Regions from separate parts of the Homo sapiens genome. Here region 1 is linked to region 2. Evidence: promoter capture Hi-C in human tissues and cell types (Jung and others, 2019). All regions are on one chromosome and are shown on one strand. The core of a region is centred on a gene start or on the middle of the fragment in contact, and the rest is flanking DNA. Distances in the headings are between cores, read along the strand shown. Region 1 has its middle 110 kb from the start of LINC03141. Region 2 holds the start of AKAP3 (A-kinase anchoring protein 3).

The links. Contacts are between HindIII fragments. The study calls those that stand out against the background at their distance.
Region 1: a contact is called between a fragment that was not itself captured here and the fragment with the promoter of AKAP3 in region 2, in 1 of the 25 tissues and cell types used here (mesenchymal stem cells).

What each region holds. Positions count from the first base shown.
Region 1 is chr12:4,124,067-4,129,720 of GRCh38, forward strand. No RefSeq gene overlaps it. Among named protein-coding and RNA genes, the nearest start is that of LINC03141, 110 kb to the left of the region's middle. The HindIII fragment of the contact is 9,017 bases long and covers 1-5,654 here.
Region 2 is chr12:4,647,801-4,653,486 of GRCh38, forward strand. AKAP3 (A-kinase anchoring protein 3) reads right to left here and starts at 1,251. Exons shown (of 6, transcript NM_001278309.2): 1 at 945-1,251. It overlaps NDUFA9 (NADH:ubiquinone oxidoreductase subunit A9), which reads left to right and starts at 1,314. Exons shown (of 11, transcript NM_005002.5): 1 at 1,314-1,375. The coding sequence starts at 1,327. RefSeq lists enhancers at 676-725, 1,006-1,215, 1,084-1,739. The HindIII fragment of the contact is 5,598 bases long and covers 1,139-5,686 here.

The sequences.
Region 1 (5,654 bases), core at 2,267-4,766, 520 kb before region 2:
TCATAAACCAGCCTGGATTCCGCACCTATTCTGACTCTAAAGCCTGTGTTCTTTCCCTTGACTTCATGCGGCCCCTGCCTTCAAGGACTTTCCTCTCCAGTGTATCTTTAAGTAAGAAAGCGTGTGTGGGAGGTGAGGTGCGGGAGAGGGACGAGAATGCTCCCCTGCCTGAAGCTCCCCTCTGTGACTAAGAACCCAGTTTGTAATCTCTTCTTCACTTTTTTTTTTCTTTTGAGACGGCGTCTCGCTCTGTCGCCCAGGCTGGAGTGCAGTGGCGCGATCTCGGCTCACTGCGACCTCCGCCTCCCGGGTTCAGGCAATTCTGCCTCAGCCTCCCGAGTAGCTGGGATTACAGGCATGCGCCACCACACCCGGCTCATTTTTGTATTTTTAGTAGAGACGGGGTTTCACCGTGTTGGTCAGGCTGGTCTCGGACTCCTGACCTCGTGATCCGCCCGCCTCAGCCTCCCAAAGTGCTGGGATTACAGGCGTGAGCCGCCGCGCCCGGCCTCTTTTCTTCTCATACAAGGGTAGGATGGGGAGAGCACTAAGGGCTACCTCTGTCTCCAGCTACATTCTCAAGTGCTCCACAAGGAGGAGTGGAGAATGATGTTCGGGGGACAGTGAACAGTGCCTGTCCCTCCTTTTGTTGCTCAAACTTCCACACCTGCGGTCACCCTCACTTCCCCCTAGGCGCTTCCAGGCGGGTGGATGACTGATGACCCTGACTCCAAGCCAGGAGGACGGGGCTAGGGCTTCATCCCTTCCTCCCGAATAATACCATCCTGTTTTAACAGCTGATTTCCATTCAGCTTCCACCTTAAAACACAGGACACCACCAAACCATTGAGGCCACCTGTGTCTCTCTTCAGAATCCTGCGGAACTCCCTCACTCTCAGATATTTCTGAAATACCTACTTATAAAAATAGTTTTGGCCGGGCACGGTGGCTCATGCCTGTAGTCCCAGCACTTTGGGAGGCCGAGGCGGGCAGATCGCCTGAGGTCAGGAGTCCGAGACCAGCCTGACCAACAAGCTGAAACCCCATCTCTACTAAAAATACAAAAATTAGCCGGGCGTGGTGGCAGGAGCCTGTAATCCCAACTACTCGGGAGTCTGAGGCATGAGAATCACTTGAACGTGGGAGGCAGAGGCTGCAGGGAGCCGAGATTGCACCATTGCACTCCAACCTGGGTGACAAGAACAAAATTCCATCTCAAAAAAAAAAATAAAATTAAATAAATAAATAAATCATAAATAGATGTTTTAATTTGCATATTCTAATGACTAATGATGTTGAACACCTTTTCATGCAGTTTTTTGTAATTTGTATCTCTTCTCTTGGGAAGTTTCTGTTGGAATCTTTGTGCCTCTTTTTTATTGGATTGTTTACTTTCTGATTATCGTGTTGTGCATGTTCTTTATATATTCTGGATACCAGTGCTTTATCAGATATATATATAGCAAATATTTTCTCTTATTCTGTGACTTGTCTTTCTAGTCACCTAACCTTAGCTTTCAAAGAGTAGAAGTTTTTAGTTTTGATGAAGCCCATTTTATTCCTTTTTTCTTTTACAGTTAATGCTTTCAGTGTCCTCTAAGACATCTTTGAATAGCCTAAAGTCACAAAGATTTTCCCCTGTTTATGTTAGCAGTTTTATAGTTTTAGGTTTTACATTTAGGTCTCTGATCCATTTTGAGTTACTCTTTATATATGGTGTGAGGTCTGAATCAAGGTTTATTCTTTTTCATTTGGGTGTCTAAATGCTCCAGCACCGTGTTTGTTGAAAAGTCTGTACTTTCTCACTAAATTGCCTTGATACTTTTGTCAAAAGTGAGTTGACCACATATGTGTGATTGATTTCTGGATTCCCTATTCTTTTCCATTTATCTGTGTCTCTATTACACCATAGACCAATACTACAATGTCTTGATTGTTGTAGCTTTCTAGTAAGCCTTGAAATTAGGATACTGTTCATTTTTTGACGTTTATATAAGTGGCATCATACTTTACATATCCTTCGTTTACTTTTTTCACAACATTAATTTTGAGATCTATCTGCATTGGTGATAAATCTATCCGTCTATCCAGTTGATGCATACCTCCAATCTCTTCATTTTCATAATTGTATAGTGTTCCTTTGTGTTTGTACACCATAATTTTGTATCATTCTACTGTTGGTTGACACGTAGATTGCTTATAGGTTTCAGCTGTCCCACACTATGCTGTGTGAACATTTGTGTACATGTTTAATAATAGCGTACACGTTTGGCCGGGCGCGGTGGCTCACACCTGTAATCCCAGCACTTTGGGAGGCCGAGGCGGGCAGATCACGAGGTCAGGAGATCAAGACCATCCTGGCTAATACGGTGAAACCCCATCTCTACTAAAAATACGAAAAAATTAGCCAGGCATGGTGGTGGGTGCCTGTAGTCCCAGCTACTCGGGAGGCTGAGGCAGGAGAATGGCGTGAACCCGGGAGGCAGAGCTTGCAGTGAGCCGAGATCGTGCCACTGCACTCCAGCCTGGGGGACAGAGCGAGACTCCATCTCAAAAAAAGAAAAAAATCGTGTACATGTTCAAAGTTTCTCCAGGGTTTGAACCTAGGTATGGAGTTACTGGGTCCCCAGGTAGCAAGATTCATATGCCAAGAACCTTCATCTGCGCTAGAGAAGACCAAACCATTTTCCAGAGTCTCATACCAATCTTCACACCCGGCAGCAGCGCACAAAAGTTTTCAGTGTTCCTCGTTATCTACGCTTGGTGCTGGTAGACTTTTTAACTTAAAAATCACACTTTGTGGTTTCAGTTTGCACATCCCTGGATATTAGAGAGGTTAAACATCCTTTCTCAGACTCTTTGGCCACTCAGCTTTCCTTTTATGTAAAACGCCTGTTTGTGTCTTTTGCTCACTTTTCTATTAAGTTGTGTTTTTCTTACTGATTAGATGAATTCTTTATACATGCTGAATACCAATACATTTCTCAGTCTGTACCTTTTTGTTCCTTTAATGGCGACTTGATGACCAGAAGTTCTTCATTTTAACATGATCAAAATTATCAATCCATTCTCTTCTGTTATTTTACATATTGTGCTCTGTTTATAAAATCCTGCCATATCTTAAATTCATAAAGATCCTTGCCAGCGTTTTCTGCTAAAAGGTCTAAAGTTTGGACTTTTATATTTAAATTTTAATTCATCTTAAGTTTTTAAAAATTACATATACTGTGTGAGGTATAGATGCAATTTCACATGGAAAACCAGCTGTCCCAGCACCATGTATCGAATAATCTATATTTTCCCCACTGATCTTCAGTGGCCATTCTGTATTATATTATATCAAGTTTCTAAATATGTATGAATTGGTTTCTGAACTGTATCTTGTCCCATTGATCTGTTTGTTCTTTTATCATTACCAACTGTCTTAACTACCATAGCTTTTGAATAAGTCTTGATGTTGAGTAGGATAATCTCCTCACCTTGACTTCTTTAGGAGTTTCTCAGCTATTCCTGGTCTTTTGTGCTTCAATTAAATTTTGAAATCAGACTGCCACATGGTACCAAAACCAAAAAACAACCCAACTGCTGGTATTTTTGTTACAATTTAACTGAACCTAAAAAAAAATCAAAATCAGAAGAATTTGCAGTTGTTCATGAGTGAGTCTTCCTACCCAAGCCATGGCTTATCTCTTCATTTTATGTAGTCATTCCAAATGAGGTTTGAGAACATTTTGTATTTTTCCTCATAAAAGACTGGCACATCTGTAAAATATTCCTTGGTATCTTACTTTTTGTTACCCTCATGTTATCCTTTTTTTAAAGTGAATTCCCTGGTGGTGCATAAAAATTAACTTTTGTATTGTGATCTTTTATCTGACAGCTTTGATAAACTTTCCTATTCATCTTAGTAATTTTTTTGTTTTTTGAGACAGGGTCTCACTCTGTTACCCAGGCTGGAGTGCAGTGGCAGGATCTCGGCTCACTGCAGCCTCAACATCCTGGGCTCAAGCAATCCTCCCACCTCAGCCCTGAAAGTAGCTGGGACTGCAGGTACACACCATTGCACCTGGCTAATTTTTGTATTATTTGTAGAGATGAGATATCGTTATGTTGCCCAGGCTGATCTCGAACTCCTGAGCTCAGGCAGTCCACCCACCCTGGCCTCCCAAAGTGCTGGGATTACAGGTAGGAACTACCATGCCCAGCCTCATCCTACTAATTTAACTTAAAATTTAACCTAAAAATACTTTAGGTTATCTCTTTCTTTCCTTTCCATTTCTTTCCGTTTCCTTTTCTTTCGTAGTGTACTGGCCAGAATTTCCAGCAACATTGAACGAACCAATGAAAATAATAGCCTTGGCCGGCTATTGATCCCAAAGAGAAATTTTAAAATATTTTACTGTTGAATATGTAGTTACTACAACCGCATGTGTGTGTGTATGTGTGTGTGTGTGTCTGTGAGCATGTGCACATGCATGCATGCATCCACACACGTAAAACTCATAACAGGTTAAATCACCTTTGATTCCTCGTTGGTCAAGAATGGTTATCATAAAGAAATATTGAATGTTATTAAACACTTTCTTCCTCTATTGAGATGATCATATGGCTTTTCTCCTTTTAAGGAATGATCAAGTGATGAACTACATTTAGAAATTTTCTGATGCTGACCTGCTTTGCATTTGTGGAATGAATTAAACTTGGTCTTCATTGATTATCTTTTAAATACATGGTTAGTGTTAATATGTTAATACCGTGTTAAGGAGTTTTGCATCTATGTTTGTTAGTGAAATGGTTCTGTGATTTTTTTTCCTACAACTATATCTAATTTTAGTATCAAGCATCTGCTGGCCTCATAAAAATGACTAGGGGAATGTTTCCTTTTCTTCTACTCTATAGAAGAATTTAAATAATATTGGAATTATCTTTTTCTTTAATGTCGGACCTATCTTGCCTATAAAATCATCTGGGATTGATATTTTCTTTTCTGTTTTTTGTTTGTTTGTTTGTTTGAGACGGAGTTTCACTCTTACTGCCCAGGCTGGAGTGCAAGGGCACGATCTTGGCTCACCACAACCTCCGCCTCCTGGATTCCAGTGATTCTCCTGCCTCAGCTTCCTGAGTAACTGGGATTACAGGCATGTGCCACCATGCCCGGCTAATTGTGTATTTTTAGTAGAGACGGAGTTTCTCCATGTTGGTCAGGCTGTTCTTGAACTCCCAACCTCAGGTGATCCACCCGCCTCGGCCTCCCAAAGTGCTGGGAGTACAGGCATGAGCCACCGTGCCCGGCCTCCGGCCCTGATATTTTCTTTGTAGTGAGGTTGTTAAGTGTTCATTACCTCAATTTAATGGTTTTAAATAGTTATATTCAGGATTTTTACTTCCTCTTGAACCTTTTGGCAATTAATATTTTACTAGCCATTTGTCCCTTTTTTAATTTTCAAATTTATTGGCAATAAATGTCATATTATTTTCTCATTGTATTTTAATTCCCATTGCATCTGTAGTGTATTAATTTCCTAGGATTGCTTTAACAAAGTACCAGAAACTGGGCAGCTTAATACAATAGAATGTGTTATCTCATAGTTCTGGAAGCTAGGAATTCAAGATGAAGGTGTTGAAAGAGTTGGTTCCCTCTGAGCGCTGTGCTC
Region 2 (5,686 bases), core at 1-2,500:
AAGGTTTTTTTCTCTCTTCCAATTCAATTTGTTAGGCGACACTTCAGTAAACAGTAGGGGCAAGATAGAGTGGAAACAGCCAAGATTTCAAGCCTAGTAATAAGCAACTTCTACATCCCTACTCATCACAGGCCTTTTTGTCTATCCCAGAAACACATACTTTTCCTGAAAAAACAAAGCACTGGAAGGATTACCAAGTCTAGAAAGAACCCGCCCTCCCCAAACTAGGTGGTTTTCTGATAAGCCTAAGGTATGTTTCACAGGATCACTGGTTGCCATCTCCTACCCAGCAATCTGGAGAGGTTGACCAGAATAAAGTATTTTAAAATCCAAGCGCTTAGTCTAACCTGGAATTTCCTCAGTTTCTAGATGGCTCTTTGTAGAACAATGCAGATTCTCAAAGGTGACCACAGTTAAAGAAAAAATTACAAGCCATTGCGCTAGAGAGAGCCATCTGCAGTTTCTCCTTAGACAGATGTTCAGATGGCACACATGGCCACTAAATTTGCATAATATTTCAGGAAGTTCACAGATTTCCCGAAGCCCACTCATGAATCACACTTCTGGTTAAGAACTCCTAGATTCATATGCTAGTTGGTGATAAGTGCTTTGGTATATAAACTTAAACCAAAAATTGGTGGAATAATTACCACCTTGGATAGGATGGTCAGAGAAGTTTTATCCGAAGAGGTCACTTTTGAGCAGAGACTTGAGCTGGTGCAGACACCTGAGTGTGCATTCCAGGAAACGCGAACAGCAGGCGCAAGGGTCCCTATGAGAGAATGTGCTTGGCGGGCTCGACGCACATTTATTTACTTGGGACACACCCTATTTTGGTTTCTCTTCTCCACTTTTCCCCTCGTTCTTGTCCCCCCTTTTCTCTCTCCTGGGCCCTGGATCTCCTGAGCGCGGAGGGCTACGCCTCCTTCTTCCTCCGGACTCACCAGGGCTGCCAGCTTAGCTTACATTTTCAGGGAACAGGAAACTGAGAGTCAGGAAAGGTGAGCTCTTCTACCTCGGGTCTTGCCATTTTGCATGTCCTGAGTCAGTCACTGGTTAACTCTGAACTTCAGGTTCCTCGGCAATTAGAGATTATAAATAGCCTATACAGCCTATTCCAGATCTGAGATTCCAACAGCCAAAGTCTTTTCACTTCCTTTCTTCCCCCTCTCCTTCACTTTCCCAGCTTTCTTCTTAACCAACAATCTACCCGAAACCGTCGTTTCTTGGTTAGCGCTTGCGCAGACAGGCGAGAAAGGTAAGTTTTGACCCAGCTTAGCAGCCGTAGTCAGCCGGGAGTGCTGTCGTGGGGGATTGTGGGAAAAGATGGCGGCTGCCGCACAATCCCGGGTTGTCCGGGTCCTGTCAATGTCACGTAAGTGTTACCGGGAACGGCGGCCCCTGGTCGGGATTCCGAGACGGGGATTTAAGGTTTTGGAAGTGGCACCGTGCTGCAGCGGTCACGCCAACTTCCTAGGCACACTCTGGTTTCTCTAGGTTTGGAGCTGCCTCAGTCTGGTTTCTCCTTTCGCTTTCCGCTTCCCCGGCTCACATATTCAATTGTGCACCACCTTGGGAGGGGACAAAAGATCTTAAGCAGCTGTAAGCGAAGAGGAGAATGCGGGGGACACGTTAGGGATCGAGAGAATCAGAATTCTGATATGGTTGTAAGGGTTTAGGGTTATGAGAAATATTTGTATGGGGCGGGGGGAGAAATGTGTAAGGGAGGGAAAAAAGGCTAGTGGCGAGAGGTTTTCTTAGATTGATTTTATGACCTTGTGCAAACCCTTAATGGGTCTCAATTCATATGAGCACAATGGAAATGATAATATTACAATACCAGGGAGTCTCTGATAAGATTAAATGAGCTAATATTTGTAAAAGCATCCTTTTACCCAAAAGCGTCTCTACGGATGTAGAATGTGTTCGGCAAAGTGCGTTGGGGTCTGGGGGAGAGAGTGATGTTTGAGGAGAGAAGAATCAGGAGCTTGGTGGAAAGGAAAGTGAAGAATGAAGGCTATGTTAGAATTTGTTAGCATTATTTAGTTTCTCTTCTGTTCTGATTGGATCTGCTCCCACTCCTCAAACTGAAAACATACATTTGTCCTTCCACTCACTAAAAAGCAAGGAAATTAGAAATACGGTTACACTTCATCATTGTCCTTTCACCCTCTACTCTTCCACAAACATATTCCAATCAAACCCCCAAAGTTGTATTTTTCTTAGTGTATTTTAGTCGTTACAGAATATCATTTGCTTTCAAAATTGGCTCATGTCAGAATCACTCGTAAAGCTTTATAAAAATTAGAAATGAGGACTGAGTGTAGAGCTATTGAGTCAGAATTTGTGAGATTAGCTCCTTGCACCTTAAATTTTTAAAAGCACCACAGATAGGCTTGATGTTCAGCCTGAGGCAAGAATTAGGAGTGTTTAGAGGATCCTTTTTTTTTTGTTTTCCATCTTGGGTAGAACTCCTGCATACCACTGGGAAGGTGGTGGTGCACATCACTTATAGTGGATGGTTTTGTAGTCACAATGTCTTTGCAAAGACATTTGCTGGTTCTTGTTAAACTATTACAATTGTATGACGTAATGTAGATTGTGAATGGTAATCACTATTTATTGAGTACCTGCTATCTGCAATCTCCAGTTCTAGGTATTTTTATTAATTTTCCTCTTTTAACTTACTTTCCTCTGACTGACACCATAGCTTGTGTTCTTAACCACTCTGCGTTATTGTCTGGTAAAGTAAGTTTTTGAGTAAATTCTGTAGAGGCAAGTCTAGTATGTAACATAATCCACACACTATAGGACAGAACTGTGTAAGACAACTATATATAGTTAAGTGTGGCAAGACTATTAAGTATCACAGGAAATCATAAAAGGGAAAGATTAGTATCATTTGAGGTACTGAGGGATGATTGGAAGACCAGTGGAGAATTGTAGTGCTCCCACTGGTCTCTTTAGGGCTGTTATGATCTGGAAAGTCCTCTGGCAAAGACAAGTGGGTGAGAATGGAGTCATGAGGTATTCAAGAGGCAGTGAAATGACTACCTGAATATCTGGGATAGTGGAAAAGGAGGTTGAATGTGTTAGATGGGATCAGACAATGGAGACCTTTGAAAGCCAAGCAGAGTTTAGATCGGTAGTCTCCAAAGGGAGTTGTGCAAGAGGACCTAATAAGTTGTGGAAATATAAATTAGAACTCCTAAAAATTGCTTTCTATAGTAATAATAGCTAACACTTATGTAGTTTAAACTGTATGCCACACACTATTCTAAGTAATGTATGATTTATAATGTGTATATCATATTGGTACTACATAGAACGTGCATATAATTTTTTAAATAAATACTTAAAAAAATTAATGCAGTGTGCAAGCAAATATGTCTGGACTATTGGTTTGGGTATTGCAGTAGGAAACTAATGTAGGTTTTTAAGCAGAGAAATATAATGAATATATAATTAATAAAGAATATCATTCTTCTAATAGTACTCATAATAAATGGAAGAAAGTGGAGAGGCTGGAACCAAAGAGAGTAATAATTTATATTTATTGAGCACCTAGTATTTGCAAGGCACTGTGACAGATGCTTGCCCATATGTTATTCTCATTAACCCTTTAAACTGTGAGCTTCATGAAGCCAGGGTTTTGTATTTTACTGTGATAGTCACAGTTTCTAGAATAATTCTTGGCCCATAATTATTAAAAAAAAACAATAGCCATGTGAGGTTAGTGTGACATTACCTTCTGAGAAATTTCAAAGTAATAAAAGCAACTATTATTCATAGAATGCTTAATGTGCTCTAGGTAATGTGCTACGTGGTTTATGTATGTTTAATCCTCTTAACAGTCCTTTGAGGTATTAATTCCTCAACTCAAGTAATTCTTCCCAGTTCATTGACTCTGCCATCTTTTGCCTGTCTTATCCTATGTCCTCATTTCCTTACTCTTCACTCTTATCATTCCCTTTTATGCATCCTCAACTCCCCAGCCCAACTCCCATTGTCGTAAAAAACATTGACCCTGATTAAACAAAACTTTCCACGTAATTTGCTGCCTGCCACTGAGCAATGGAGAACGGGGCTAGGGAAAACTTCAGACTAACTGGCCTTATTTTAAATTCATGAATACAAATCTCAAGTAGATTTTCAGTGCTACATTTTTCTAGGAAATTTGGTTTCCTTGTCTCCATAATCATTACTTAACATAGCGAGTTTCCTAAAACCTCTAACATGTGCTTTTGTCTCATTCTCAGCTTTACAGAGAAATCAAAGGAATCAGATGAGAACAGTCATTTTCCCACCATAAACTCTAATAGTTGATATGTGATAATTCTTTGCCTTTTCTCTTGTTACAGTGGGTGAGCTCCTTCTGTTCCAATCTGTGGCCAGTTCCTTCACTTTGCATTCAATCTTATCCTCTCTCAACTATTCATTCCCTTTCCTGAATCAGTAATTTTCTACCTCTACCATGGAAATCATGTCATTTCCATCAGCACATAAATGTTAACTCATATTTAAAACAAACAAACAAACCTATTCCTGTCCTTGTTTTCTCTAGTTCCATTTCTCCTTTTTCAGAAGGATTGTGTATACTCCTCATCTACTTCCTTGCCTCACAGCCTCTCTTGTTTGCTCCAGTCTGGCTTTCAGTCCCACTAATCCAATAAAATTGCTCTTATTTATGCCACCTACAGCCACATCCTCCAGCTTCTGTGGTCCTCTGTCCTCTTCCTACTTCACTTTCAGCATTTGGTAAAGTTAACCATTCTCTCCTTGAAACAGTTTCTTATTTTGGGTTTTTAGATTCTGTTTCCTTCTGAGTTTTTCTCCTACCTCATGGGACTGCTTTTTAATCTCCTTTACTAGTGCTTTGGGCTAGTCACTAACCTTATCCATAAAGTGGTGATAAAGATAGCATTAAAAAAGATAATACCTATGCAGCACTTAGAATAATGCTGGACACCTGCCAAGAGCTCTGTAAAGGTAGCTGTTAATATGATGTTATTATTTTGTTATTATGATGTGTGGTCCATGATGTTTACTTTTAATTTCTGTCACTATCAGTGAGCTAGGCTATTTCTCCAATTCAATACTTTTGGATAGGGAAGAACAATGACCTTTGGGCAGAATGCCACCTGAAAGTCATCCCTAGAAACAAACACAGATTTTCTAAAGAAAGTCCTGTTTGTGTCTTTCACCTCTCCCAAGTGTACAAAGCACGAATGCTAAGCTCCGAAGTTTGTTGATTGGAGCAGAAGTGCGTTAGCACTTTAAACCTTTTTGTTTCTACTTACATGAAAGTTGAGCAGCTAACTCTAAAATTCTATTCTAAGGAGTTAGCAATAACTTGAAAACTGGAATGTATCCAAAAGAGATTCTCATTCCTGCCATATGAAGAATATTTGACAGGACAGGGAATGTTTAACCTGGAGAAGAAAATATTTAGTGGGGCTATAATTGCTACACTTAATTGTAGAAGAGGGATTAGACTTGTTCTTTGTCATTCTGGAGGAACACAGGGATAAAAACTTCTGGGAAGCAGTCACTGATTCCCCTTGTGGTAGAACTTTCTTTCTGTTAGAATGGCTCAAAGCAGAATGGGCAGCTACAGGAAGTAGTGAGTTTCCCAACTCCACAGGTGTTCAGGCAAAAGCCAGATGATTTCTTTGCACACATGCTG